Regions from separate parts of the Homo sapiens genome. Here region 1 is linked to region 2. Evidence: promoter capture Hi-C in 16 types of primary human blood cells and fetal thymus (Javierre and others, 2016). All regions are on one chromosome and are shown on one strand. The core of a region is centred on a gene start or on the middle of the fragment in contact, and the rest is flanking DNA. Distances in the headings are between cores, read along the strand shown. Region 1 has its middle 57 kb from the start of TYW3. Region 2 holds the start of LHX8-AS1 (LHX8 antisense RNA 1).

Region 1 (5,668 bases), core at 1,269-3,768, 340 kb before region 2:
CTACATTGTAAATGGTAAACTGTTACATAATATACTTACTAAAGATGCTAACCCAGAAATGAGTTATGAGAGGGTGAGATGATTAAAAAGAACATATAAATGATCAAAAAAAAAAAAAAAACAACCCCATCAAAAAGTGGGCGAAGGACATGAACAGACACTTCTCAAAAGAAGACATTTATGCAGCCAAAAAACACATGAAAAAATGCTCACCATCACTGGCCATCAGAGAAATGCAAATCAAAACCACAATGAGATACCATCTCACACCAGTTAGAATGGCGATCATTAAAAAGTCAGGAAACAACAGGTGCTGGAGAGGATGTGGAGAAATAGGAACACCTTTACACTGTTGGTGGGACTGTAAACTAGTTCAACCATTGTGGAAGTCAGTGTGGCGATTCCTCAGGGATCTAGAACTAGAAATACCATTTGACCCAGCCATCCCATTACTGGGTATATACTCAAAGGACTATAAATCATGCTGCTATAAAGACACATGCACACGTATGTTTATTGCGGCACTATTCACAATAGCAAAGACTTGGAACCAACCCAAATGTCCAACAATGATAGACTGGATTAAGAAAATGTGGCACATATACACCATGGAATACTATGCAGCCATAAAAAATGATGAGTTCATGTCCTTTGTAGGGACATGGATGAAATTGGAAATCATCATTCTCAGTATGGTGGGAATTGAACAATGAGAACACATGGTCACAGGAAGGGGAACATCACAGTCTGGGGACTGTTGTGGGGTGGGGGGAGGGGGGAGGGATAGCTTTAGGAGATATCCCTAATGCTAAATGACGAGTTAATGGGTGCAGCACACCAGCATGGCACATGTATACATATGTAACTAACCTGCACATTGTGTACATGTACCCTAAAACTTAAAGTATAATAATAATAAAATAAAATTTAAAAAATCCAAAGGAGTTTGGATTTTATATTAGCTAGTGGTTATTTACTAACATGAAAATGAAATATGAGGAAGATTAACCTAGCAGTGAGTGAGGGGATGAAAAACATGGCCTTAAAGTGAAGAGCTAAGAAATGTTTGCTAGGGCCTAGATACAATATCTGTTGAAACAATTTGATCCAATATAGACTAAGAAGGTAGAGACAGTGAGTCTTTATAACCAATATATCAAGAAAAGCAAATGGTAGGAAGGGGAAAGGAGAAAGGAGAGGGAGACGAGGAAGGCGAAGAGAGAGAAATGGGATAAAGAATTTTTTTAAGATTCATTTGCATAACAAATTACCAAAACACATTATTCTGATTCTGCCAACAGACTATAGCCATTCATACTGAAATTTTAAAAATACTCAGACTTAAACTGCATGTCACATTTTTTTGTATCAAGGAAATGAAACAGAAGAAAATTGCCTGAGACTTAAGTACATTAATTCAAAAGTCTTAAAAGCTAAAGAAGGGAACATCTACAGACTTCATTAAGGAGTCTATTTAATATGGTATTAATACAAAAATAAGAAAGCTTCTCTCCATCTCCTGCTAAATTACTTGCTAGAGATCTGGGAGGACTGGTCAATCTTAAGAATGTCCTACTGATACCTTCCCCATTGTTTGTTCAACTTTACATATTTATGCTCTTGAACATCATTGATCTATGATAGTAGCTCATGGGTGAGAGGTTGCTCAAGATGAAAGGTTCACCATTAACATTTTTAGCCATTTTGAAGATTACTACAAATTTCCCAATGAGTCTAAAATTGGTCTAGGAAATTTTATCCTATCAAAAAGAACTCTGTTCTGCCAATGATATGATTTGGTTTATCAGTAAAGACATTAGTTTGGGATCTCAGGAAAAAAGAAGTATCATAATGTGAAGGGTTAATAATTTGAGAAAATAAATTGCGTGCTCTTTCTTCTCCTCTATAGCCATTGCCTATCCTCCCTGGAGAAGTGTGGCCACCATTTGTTTCGTGAGGTTAATTGTCAAATAAAAACAAATCACAACAGAAAATTATTTTTATGCTTAAAAACAATGGGTCCAGATGTCAGGGGAAAAAATGGGAAATAGAAGCAGAAGCAGTCTGACCCTAAGTTTCTAGTGTTGGCTCTGCTTCTTTCCTAGTACAGGAAATCGTTATTTTATTCCTGCTCTATGATAAACATAAAGTACAGTGCTCAGCAAACTAGATATTCAATCAATGAATAAACAAATCTAAGACCTTGGTTAAGTCATTTACCCTATCTGGAACCATTTTAAAATTTTGAAATAATATTCTCATTTTAATTTGATATGAAGATTTAAAATGTGCTCTATCAATGTTAAGTGAAGAGTAGCTGTGATGATGATGGTGATAAATAAAAAATAGAGTTGCTATGTCCCCAGATTCCCCTGCACATTTTTTTTTTCTTTTACCCAAGACATTTTGGATCCTTTCAATATCCGGTGGAAACATAATTGAAATGTATAAAACCATGGAAGCAAATGTGTTTCTCTAATTTAGAGAAAGAATGATGTTCAGGTCTCATGATAATCCCAGAGTCAACATTCTTCTAGATAGAGGAAAAATGAGGGGTACATAGACAGGAGGGTTGAAACCCATTCTTACGTGAAAGAAGAGGCCACTACATTTGTTCAGGAAAGGTAAGAACAAAATGCTAATGCACTGAACCAATGGACTGGCTGAGGTGCCTGCTTTGATGCTTGGACATAACAATGAAGACAGCCCCAGTTACCTGATTCCCAGCCCAATGCTCCAGCCCTTTGTCACTTACTAGACACATTTCCTCTTTAATAAAGTTCTAATTCAAGGGTCCATGTCAGATGGGGGTGATTTGGAAACATTTTAGGGACTGAAGGTTTATCAAAGTACTGTAATGGCCATGGAATGATTAAAAGGAATGTGTGTGTTCAAATACAAATGAAGAATGATCTGAAGGTAGGGCACAAGGAATAGCAGATGGTAACTATTAATTATTAGCCTATTACCAAGGCTTCAGTCCAGTAAGAAAGAAGGTATTCTATGTCTGACTCATCATCATCTAACAATTTCAGTGCTTTGATTTCTCACAAGAACACAAAAAGAAGACATTTCCTCCTTCTGTTGGTATGTTTGAGAGAGAAAAATTGTATGGCAATGTATGGAATAGTACCACATTAAATTCCTGAACATATATGTCAGCAGCACAACAGACAAAAAAAAAAAAAAAACCACCAGAAGCATGAATAATGAACAGCTCTGGAGACATTATTCTGTATATCTCTTGTTCTTAATTAATGCAATTCTATAAGACTGCACTGGCACATGGAGATTGAGAACCCCCTCTCAGCCTTATCTGCGTTGAGGTAGCATATAATAAGCGTGTAGTCAGCTTGTGCCCTAGTCAAACGGTTTTAATAAAACCCTACAAGCACTTCAGATGTGAAGCGGGTGTGTGGGAGGTAATGCTAGGCATGAGCTGAGCCCAACTTTATGAATGAAGTGGTTACATGTCATTAATGTTTCAATAGGTCCCCTAACAAGGGTAATTGGATCTCCAGGGAACCTCACCAAGCTTCCAAGTTAAATTTGCCAGTGGTGAGGATGCTCAGGTCTTGAAGGTAAGCGGAACCATTCCTGTTTTACCTTGAACCCACGGGTCAAACAGGCCTAAGGGAAATAGTTTGAAGCTGTCATTTAACATTATTACCGACATGTACTGTATTTCCAAGCAGCCTGCAAAAGGAGCCAGAGACATGCATGCATGGCCCCAAGCTGCAGGGTGGTAGCATGTCACATGTCTGGTAACAGAAGGGGATAACCATCCCAGTACAAACTTGACATATATAAATTGATTACATAAGTGGGCAGTGGTGGTCCTTTCAAGTATTCTCCTTTTGTTTGAGCTTTACAGTAAAATTACCAGCAGCAGTTTACAATTAAGGGGAATAATAATAACTGAATATGCTTTCATCTGTACATACAATTATAATGAGCTGCATGCCTTAATAGGATTGTGAAAAATCTGCGTTTGACCCACAGAAAAAAGTAAACATTCTTGTTCTGGATACTATATCATTATCACAACAAAGAGAAACTCCTGAAATCTGATGATTTAAACATCTGGAGAATGTTAATCACTTCAAAATGACGGATGTTTTTTATTTCAGCTTTTGACAGACACACTCCTTTCATAGATAGATGATTATTTACATAAATTACATCATCAATGTGAAAAAAAATCAGAATAACTTCAAAGGATAAAATGCTTAATTAAAAAGAGACTTGTGCTTCTATTTTTTCTCTCTTTCTCTGTTTTTCCTCTAAAGGAGGAGTAAAAAGGCAAATCTACCAATTCCATTGTAGGTGAATATGTAATGAGGTAGTTGTGTTTTTAAATTTCTTCATGTAGAATACATATAACTTTAAGAATAAATTACTCAATTTTTAGTATCCTGAAGCTTGTTAATTGCTTTAAGTCCACTTCTAATTTCTAAAGTTTCCCTTTTTAAAATGGAAATTTGGGGTTCACTTAGTCATTCCGATAGATGAAACAGAACAGATTCAAGCTCAAGTTGAGTCTGAAATTCACCCTCTCTTTTTGTTCAACTTTCAAATTAGCCTTGGTAGATGGAGGGAAACAAACTTTTAAAGCAACTCAGCACTGAATGAAGAGTTTAATAGACCTTATTTCATTGTTAATGCAGGAGTTTTTTTGTTTTGGGCTTTTTGTTGTTGTTTTTTGTTTTTGTTTGTTTGTTTGTTTTTGTTTTTTGGTGGAGCCTGAGAAAATAAAAGTCAAGAGCAGCCCAAAAAGAAAGAATTGAAAACTCTGCTCTTTCAAGGAGCTCTGGCTGTAGTCCCTCAGGGTCTGCCTCTGACTGGCGGCATGCTGCCTAATGCTGGTTGGTAGAACTGGTGCAATTTTGTTGATCCACTACAATTTCCCCCTACACTCGGAACTGATCTGCAGACTGACCTTAGACAATTTGTCTTCTTTCAGGGAGAAATGTCACCCAAAAGGAAGCTATTAAGTCAAGAAGGTAATTCTCTTAGAACAGTCCACTGTATAAACAGAACTTGACCTCAAGTAATTTATTGCTGGTCCCTAACAAAGAGACTTAAGAGTTAGGTCTGATATAGTTGAGATCTGAATCTGTCAATACAAAGGGCAAGCCAGAATCTTGCAAGATTTCTTTTGAGTGGCCATGTTTAGAATATAAGCCAGATCAATATAGTGTTCACACAGGAAACTGGCATTTGGTCTTTTAGAACGAAAAGTTCATTTTATTAACAAATCAGAAATTTGTACTTGCACAGTTCAGCCACTTCCTTAATGACTCCTAGATGATTTTTGTTAGGCTAATACCTAAACATTATATAAAGACTATATTTCCTTGAAAACACTGGGTTAGTTTCAGTGCTCAAGATACAGGTATGTCCCACATTGCTAAGAGGTTTATTTTCTTTTTAACTGAGTGGAAGGTGAAAAGTTAAATTTCTTAGTTGAGTGGAATGAATCATGTTACTTGAGGGCACAGAATCCAATCAATGAGCATCTCATGGTTCAGGATCTGAAAGGGTCAAACTGCTAAGCTGTCTCTTGACAATATCTCATGGACCACCTTTGACGGATGGATATTAGAGAGACTTCTAGAAAAAAAAAAGGAAGAGGAGAAGAAAGCAAAGGAAGGGTAAGAAGTATATT
Region 2 (6,184 bases), core at 3,576-6,075:
AGGAACTGAGCAAGAAGGTACCTATGCAAAGACGTAGGAGCGCTAGAATTAAGAAGGCAGAGAAAGACATGAAACCCCCTGCGCCTGCCAGCATATACTTTCATTCAGAAAGCAATTTTTTATTGTCTAGTGCCAGGCACTGAACTAGGTTTCGGAGCGTCGTCAGAACAGCACATGGTTCCTGCATCCAGGAAGCTTGTAGAGCCTCAGGAAGAACTGCAGGGGTCGACTTTATTCAAGTTTGTGTCGGGAAAAACTATTGCTAAAGGCTTCTCCCGAGTGGTCAGTAAATGAGAAACAATAAATAGCCTTTGCACAAACTGAACCACGCAGCGCAGCCTCTGCTACTGCACACAATAACAGGAGTTCGGTCAAGGCCCAAAAGGAAAGTTCCAGAAGTGAGCGCAGACCTTTGGACCTCAGTCTGTACGGAGATCGAGTCACCGTCTATTCAATCCAGGTTTTGTTCCACTTGCTGATGATTAGACATCAAATTATGCAATCTGCAAGGAAAAGGAGAGAGAACGATTTTACCGCCGATTTAAGCGTTCTCCTTTTTCCCCTTCGTGGCCGTTTTATTCGGCACTGAAATGCTGTTTAACCTCAGCAAGAGTAGGCGTGGGAAGGTGGCGCTCTTCCCCACAGCACACCAGGCACCCCCCAGCTGCTCAGCGGAAGTGGGCAGAGGCAAGAGGCTAGCGGCTGGACCACTTGTGCTGGAGTGGTAAAGAACTATCATGAATCCATTTACTGAAAGTGTCCATTTCTGAACTCACCCTAAAGAGGACAAACACCGCAAAGTAGTTAAAAGTCAGGCATTCGCGTCGGACGTCTGGGTTTGAATTCTGCCCTGGCTTGGTAAAATAGGGCTTTGGATAAATTAAAGTAGGGTTGTGTGCCATAACGTCAGTGGGGGCATTTGACAAATAATAATCAACAGCTATGATTACTGCCATTTTCACAATATTCAGAAGGTTGTGCAAACTGACAGAAGGGTGCCAAGCATTTTTAAATGTTATAGATTAACTCTCAAATAAACCAGCGACAAAGGAGATGAAAAAGGTGTTCATTGTGCATCCTTGGGCCTAGTTGCCACGACAGAGGTGGCTACAGGCAGCTGCACTCATCTCTGGAGCCTCTGCAGCCCAGGGAGGTGCGTCTAACCTCATGACCCTCTGAACCCCTAGAAGTGGTCAACTCGCTGAAGAACATTGACCTACCCTTCACTGGGGAAATTGGGCCTTTGGTGGCTCCTCTACATCCAGACCTCTCTAGAGAGGTGAAGGAGGATGTGGTAGGAGAAACATTATGTTCACTAAGAACCTCCTGTGTGGATGAGCACTTAATTCAACATTGTGATTTTTTATGACAATTTCCAAGTGATGCCATCTTCATTTTACAAATGAGAAAGCTCAAGTGTTAAAAATTTAAATTGCTCAAAATTCCATTACATATTTTACTAACTTCAAACCTGTGCTCTTACTATAATAACACGTTGCCTACCTCTTAAACCCTGAACTCCCATGAAGGAAGGAAGGCAAGCAGGGAAGGAGGAAGGGAGAGGAGGAGGATAGGAAGGAAAGGAAGAAAACCTTGCCACAGTTACAAGAACCAGTCTCCTGTAGCAGAAATGGCATATAGAAGTTATTTAAGTTTTTAAAATTCATGGCTCAAGATTCTTGGGCCAACTTTTTTTTTGTAAAAGCATAGCTTTACGAGTTACACCGGAGGTGGAAGTGTTGCTGGGGAGAACCTTAGACACCAAAGTTGTGGGCGGTCGGCGCAGGCTTGTGTGGGGCTCATTCACCCTGGCTAACAACTTGAGCTGAGGGTTCCCTTATCAAAATGTCATCCAAGCCTGTGAATAGGAGGCTCACACAGCCCCACTTCTGCCTCTCACCTATCCCCAGAAACCGAGAAAACCATCTGGTTTTTGCACTTAGATAAAGTTTAACTTTCCTGCCACACTGGCCGAGTTGGGCTTTCAGACATCCCTGGGGAAGTGGGAAAACGGGGATGTGGAAGGGGAGGAGAAGCCTGAAGGGCCTCGGTTCCATCCTCTTTCTTGATCAGCGAACTCCAGGCTATATCTGCCCGGTTTGCCTAGGACTTGTAGGGAAACGCGGTAAAGGGAGGCGGGTAGAGAGTTGGATTCTCTCTCTCTCTCTCTGGCCACCTTGGATTTCGGCTTTTACAGAATTATGCAGGCAGAGTTCTGTAGAAAGAGGTTAGAATCAGGTTTCCATTGGTCCTGATTTGTTTATCATTCTAAACAGTAAAATGCATATAAAACCGGCACCTCCAAACCACAGGCGTGCTTAAGGCGCTATTGTCGGCTTGGAAATGTCACAATGAATAAATGGTGTGATGGACTTTAGCGTTTCGCGCCATAGCTTTTAGCCGGGAAGCTTTCCAGGCTGCCCTGCTTAATTTCGGCGTGGTTCCTAATTTTCTCTCTCCCATCCTCTCTCTTAGACTGGAAACGCTTCCCCTATTTCTTCCGTAGCGGACCGGGAGAGCTTACTGGCGCTCTGCGAACCGGCTGGAAAGAAACACCGAGTCACTCGTACAGACTCTTGGTCGCAGAACTTGGCTTTCCGCTATTGGTCCTCCAGAACCGCTTGAAACAACTGGCCCCAGCTGGCGCATCAGACCGCAGTGAGGAATGCCGCGGGGCGGGTGGCGAAGGCAGGGTCTGCCCGCCAGTGGATTCCCGGGTGTCCCGCGTGGAGCAGGCTTGCCCAGCTGGGAAGCCCATCAAACCTCAGTCTTGGCCCACAGTGGGAGAGAGACCAGTGGGTCCCAGACGGAGGCCCTCGCCCGCTTTTGGCGACCTCCACTGGCGTGAATAAAAGCACCCCTCTCTTACCCTCAGAAACTGTGGGTAGCAAGGTATAAAACGGAGTCTGGGACCGGTAAGTCCCAAGGTGAGCCCGTATACAGCTCTGCCATCTCTGAGGGGTTATGCAGATTCTGAGCAGGGTAAGTTTGTGGAAAGAACCTCTAGAAGCAATCTCCTAAAGTCTTTTTCCAGACTAATATTTATAATGGTTACACGTGATGGGCAAAAATCCAAAGACACGGTCTCCTAACCCTGAACCAAGTGTGACATCCACAGTTTCAGAGTGGTTTTAGCTGAGATTTCACCTTCAGGGATCGAAGGAGTCGCCAACCAGAATTCTGCCAGAATCCGCACCTTCTTATGATCGCGAAAGTCTCCCCATCCTCCACCGCCTCCTACAGTCCTATGGCCCACTGTACCCTTGGCGCTGGAGCCCTGGAGGTGGGCGGTGAGGGCCGCGGGCCAGGGAAAGCTCGGGTCCGCAAGAGCAGGGCTCTGTTTCTGCGCCTGCAGGCCGCCCGGGAGTCCTGGATGCGCCTCCTTTGACCACGTTTTCTCTCAGGCTCCAGCTGTGCCTCGCCCCGATCTCCACAGGTCTGACCCAGGCGAGTCCCTAGAAGGCGGGCGGGAGGAGCCGTAGCAGGGGCAGTTTCGGGAATCCGAGTTTCCGGAGATTGCCTGAGCACCGCAGAACCTCCAGGTTAAGTTCTCTCAAACGTGTGGTTACTCACCCCGAGGAGCTCAGAGGCAAAGGGTTCAATAGTCAAGTTGGTGGGGACTTTCCCTACTTAAAGTTATAATTTGCTAATTCGGATCTATTGCTTTTAAATATCGAGTTCCAGAGACCTCTGTCAATGCAGGCTTAATTTCATCCCACTGATGAAGGATGTTTATAAACGGCGCCTGCAGTGCGAGCTGAGTGTGAAAATATCAGTTTTATGCCTTTTGATAAGAATTACCGAGGCGGAAGGCTCATTAGACGATTACAAATTTCGCAGCTGCTCGCAGCCCAATTAGGCAGCTCTTCGGGTGAGTGGAAGCTGTGGGGGTCAGGGCGGGTTGATGTTCCCTCTCTCCAGCCCGGACCTCCAATCAAGGCCTGGCTCCACGGGATCTAGACCCCTTCCCTGCCCCCATCTGTTTTTAGGGAGATACACTCAAGGCTTCCCTTAAGCAGGAGAGGCACAGCCTGGGACAGGACGCACTCCGAAGTCTCTCAGGCTGTCTTTCCCATGGGCTTGCAAAAAGCCCTGTGGTCCACGGATGTTGGTAGACACCTTGGGTGGGCCTGCCGCCTCTGATTTTCAAATTTTCAATTTAGTAGGTAGGAACTGTCACGACGCAGGCGATTGCTTTTCCACCTGTGGACACATAAGATGATGTTTTTTTGATCAGAGTCTTCGTTCAAAATTGGAATCAATTGGCGTTTGGGCTAAAAACCCTCATTACTAAGACCAAACAAACAAACAAAAACTCTTTTGATTTTTAGCGCACCCCTGTAAAGTAGGAAGATAACTTTTCCGTTGCCCCAGCCGAGGATGAGCGTGGGTAAGAGGCGTGACGCGAGCTCCAGGGAACCGGGCCACCAGGAAGAAGCTATACCTTCGTACGCCCACCCCTGACAAAAGGTCAGAAGGTCGTTGGACCCCAGACCGACAGGACGATCAGCCCTGGGATTCATAGCAAACACATTCCCCTCTTCTTGCACACTCGACCCCCAGCCAAAGGCTTATACCGCCCAGGACATAGAAATTGACTCACCGCCCAGAGGCTTACAGCTCAAGGAGGGGTGCGCGCAGCTGCACCCCGGGACAGGTCAGCATCCCACAAGGCGCCTGGAGTAAAGCGAGGCCAGACCAATCTTTCACGTCTTCTGCTCCTGTCTGACGACCATTCTTCTTCCCCAAGCCCAGAAACCTCTAAAAATGAATCATTTTCTCCACTTATGCAGAGATAGACGCTCTTAGATCAAGGTTAGTATTTTGAAAACCTGACTGAGAGCCGCCTGATTAGGCGAGGGTGGGTGGAAAGACCGCATAAATGCCCGCACCCCCGCCCTGCTTCCCTAACACAGCTCCAGCTCTCTCTGGATCTCCAAATGACCCGCGCGATAAATTCTCCTCGATAGTAGCCAGACAGTACCCCAGATTCACTTTAAACCCTAACACACACACACACACACACACACACACACACTGTAATTAAATATCCAAACCGGACCTTTATGTTTAATTCCACTTTCAACGAAATCCTGCTCTATACACGACCTGATGGCGCCAATGTTCTGCACGACTCTGACTTTCCATTCGGAAGAGCGGTCTCCACAACGATGCTATTTCATGGAAAATGCATTATGTGAATTTCTCCACCACCCCCAATACCGATTTCTGCATTTGATGAAAAACACAAGTCTTTCTGGTTCCCACGCACAAGTTAGCTTTTTGAAAAGTCAGTCCACCCCAATCTTTCAATTTTCTAAGAGGGCACAGATTAATTATATCGTCCTCCTCCCTTCGCTCAGTAAATTTAAACGAGATCTCCCAGAGAGGACCGGCAGGGGGATGGCTAATATTAACTTGTGCGCAGCTGCGCGAAAAGAAAAACAATGGCGATAGGAAAATGCTCTGAAGACTCTAGTGTTTATGGGAGAAAAATGCAATGGAGGAAAAACTAAATTTGTAGTGGTAACTCGGTCCCAGACTCTTACACAGGCTCACTTCATCACAGGAAAGGCTATCTATCTCCTCCGCTAGCCGGCTGCTGACCGAGCTGGGGTCTGGGCAAGATCATTTCGCTCTTTTTCTTCTATACAAATAAGGCAAGGAGATAAGATATGTGTGTGTGCGTGTGTGTGTTTTACATATATATTTCCATCTAATTAAAGCAAAATCCTATGATTCTGTTAAAGGCCTTTAAGAAATAGACTCCTAGATCTTCTTAGTTTCAGAAGTTTAGCTTTTTAAATGGAAACAAAAATCATTTAAAAATAATCTTTTAACCAAATTTGTCTTTATACACTAAATAATGAAATAAAGTTTATACCACAAAGAGTCTGTTTAAACAAACACACCTTCCAATCTTAATCAAAATTAAGGTACCCTGAATACCTCCCTCCGCCGCTTCCCCGCCCCGCAGTCAGAACTTGAGGCAGAAGACAAGGCTGCTCGGGCTTACATTTTGTCTAGGAGATGAAAGAGCAATACTCATTAGCAACATACTTTTGTCTTTCTTGTAGCCTTGATTTCAAATCTAGTCGCAAATCATAAGCTTTTGTGTTGCTCAGATGTTCCTTCTTTATCTTAATGAGAAAACTTTTCGGAAAGGGAGCGCGAACTGCTAGAT

What was found. Contacts are between HindIII fragments. The CHiCAGO score rates a contact against its expected background, and 5 or more counts as called.
Region 1: a contact is called between a fragment that was not itself captured here and the fragment with the promoter of LHX8-AS1 in region 2, in 1 of 17 cell types (endothelial precursors). The highest score is 5.3, in endothelial precursors.

The regions. Positions count from the first base shown.
Region 1 is chr1:74,787,635-74,793,302 of GRCh38, forward strand. No RefSeq gene overlaps it. Among named protein-coding and RNA genes, the nearest start is that of TYW3, 57 kb to the left of the region's middle. The HindIII fragment of the contact is 2,030 bases long and covers 1,504-3,533 here.
Region 2 is chr1:75,127,751-75,133,934 of GRCh38, forward strand. LHX8-AS1 (LHX8 antisense RNA 1) reads right to left here and starts at 4,826. Exons shown (of 2, transcript NR_187397.1): 1 at 4,604-4,826; 2 at 96-4,203. It also overlaps a transcript of LHX8 not described here. RefSeq lists a silencer at 2,480-2,680 and an enhancer at 3,586-4,785. The HindIII fragment of the contact is 3,701 bases long and covers 2,407-6,107 here.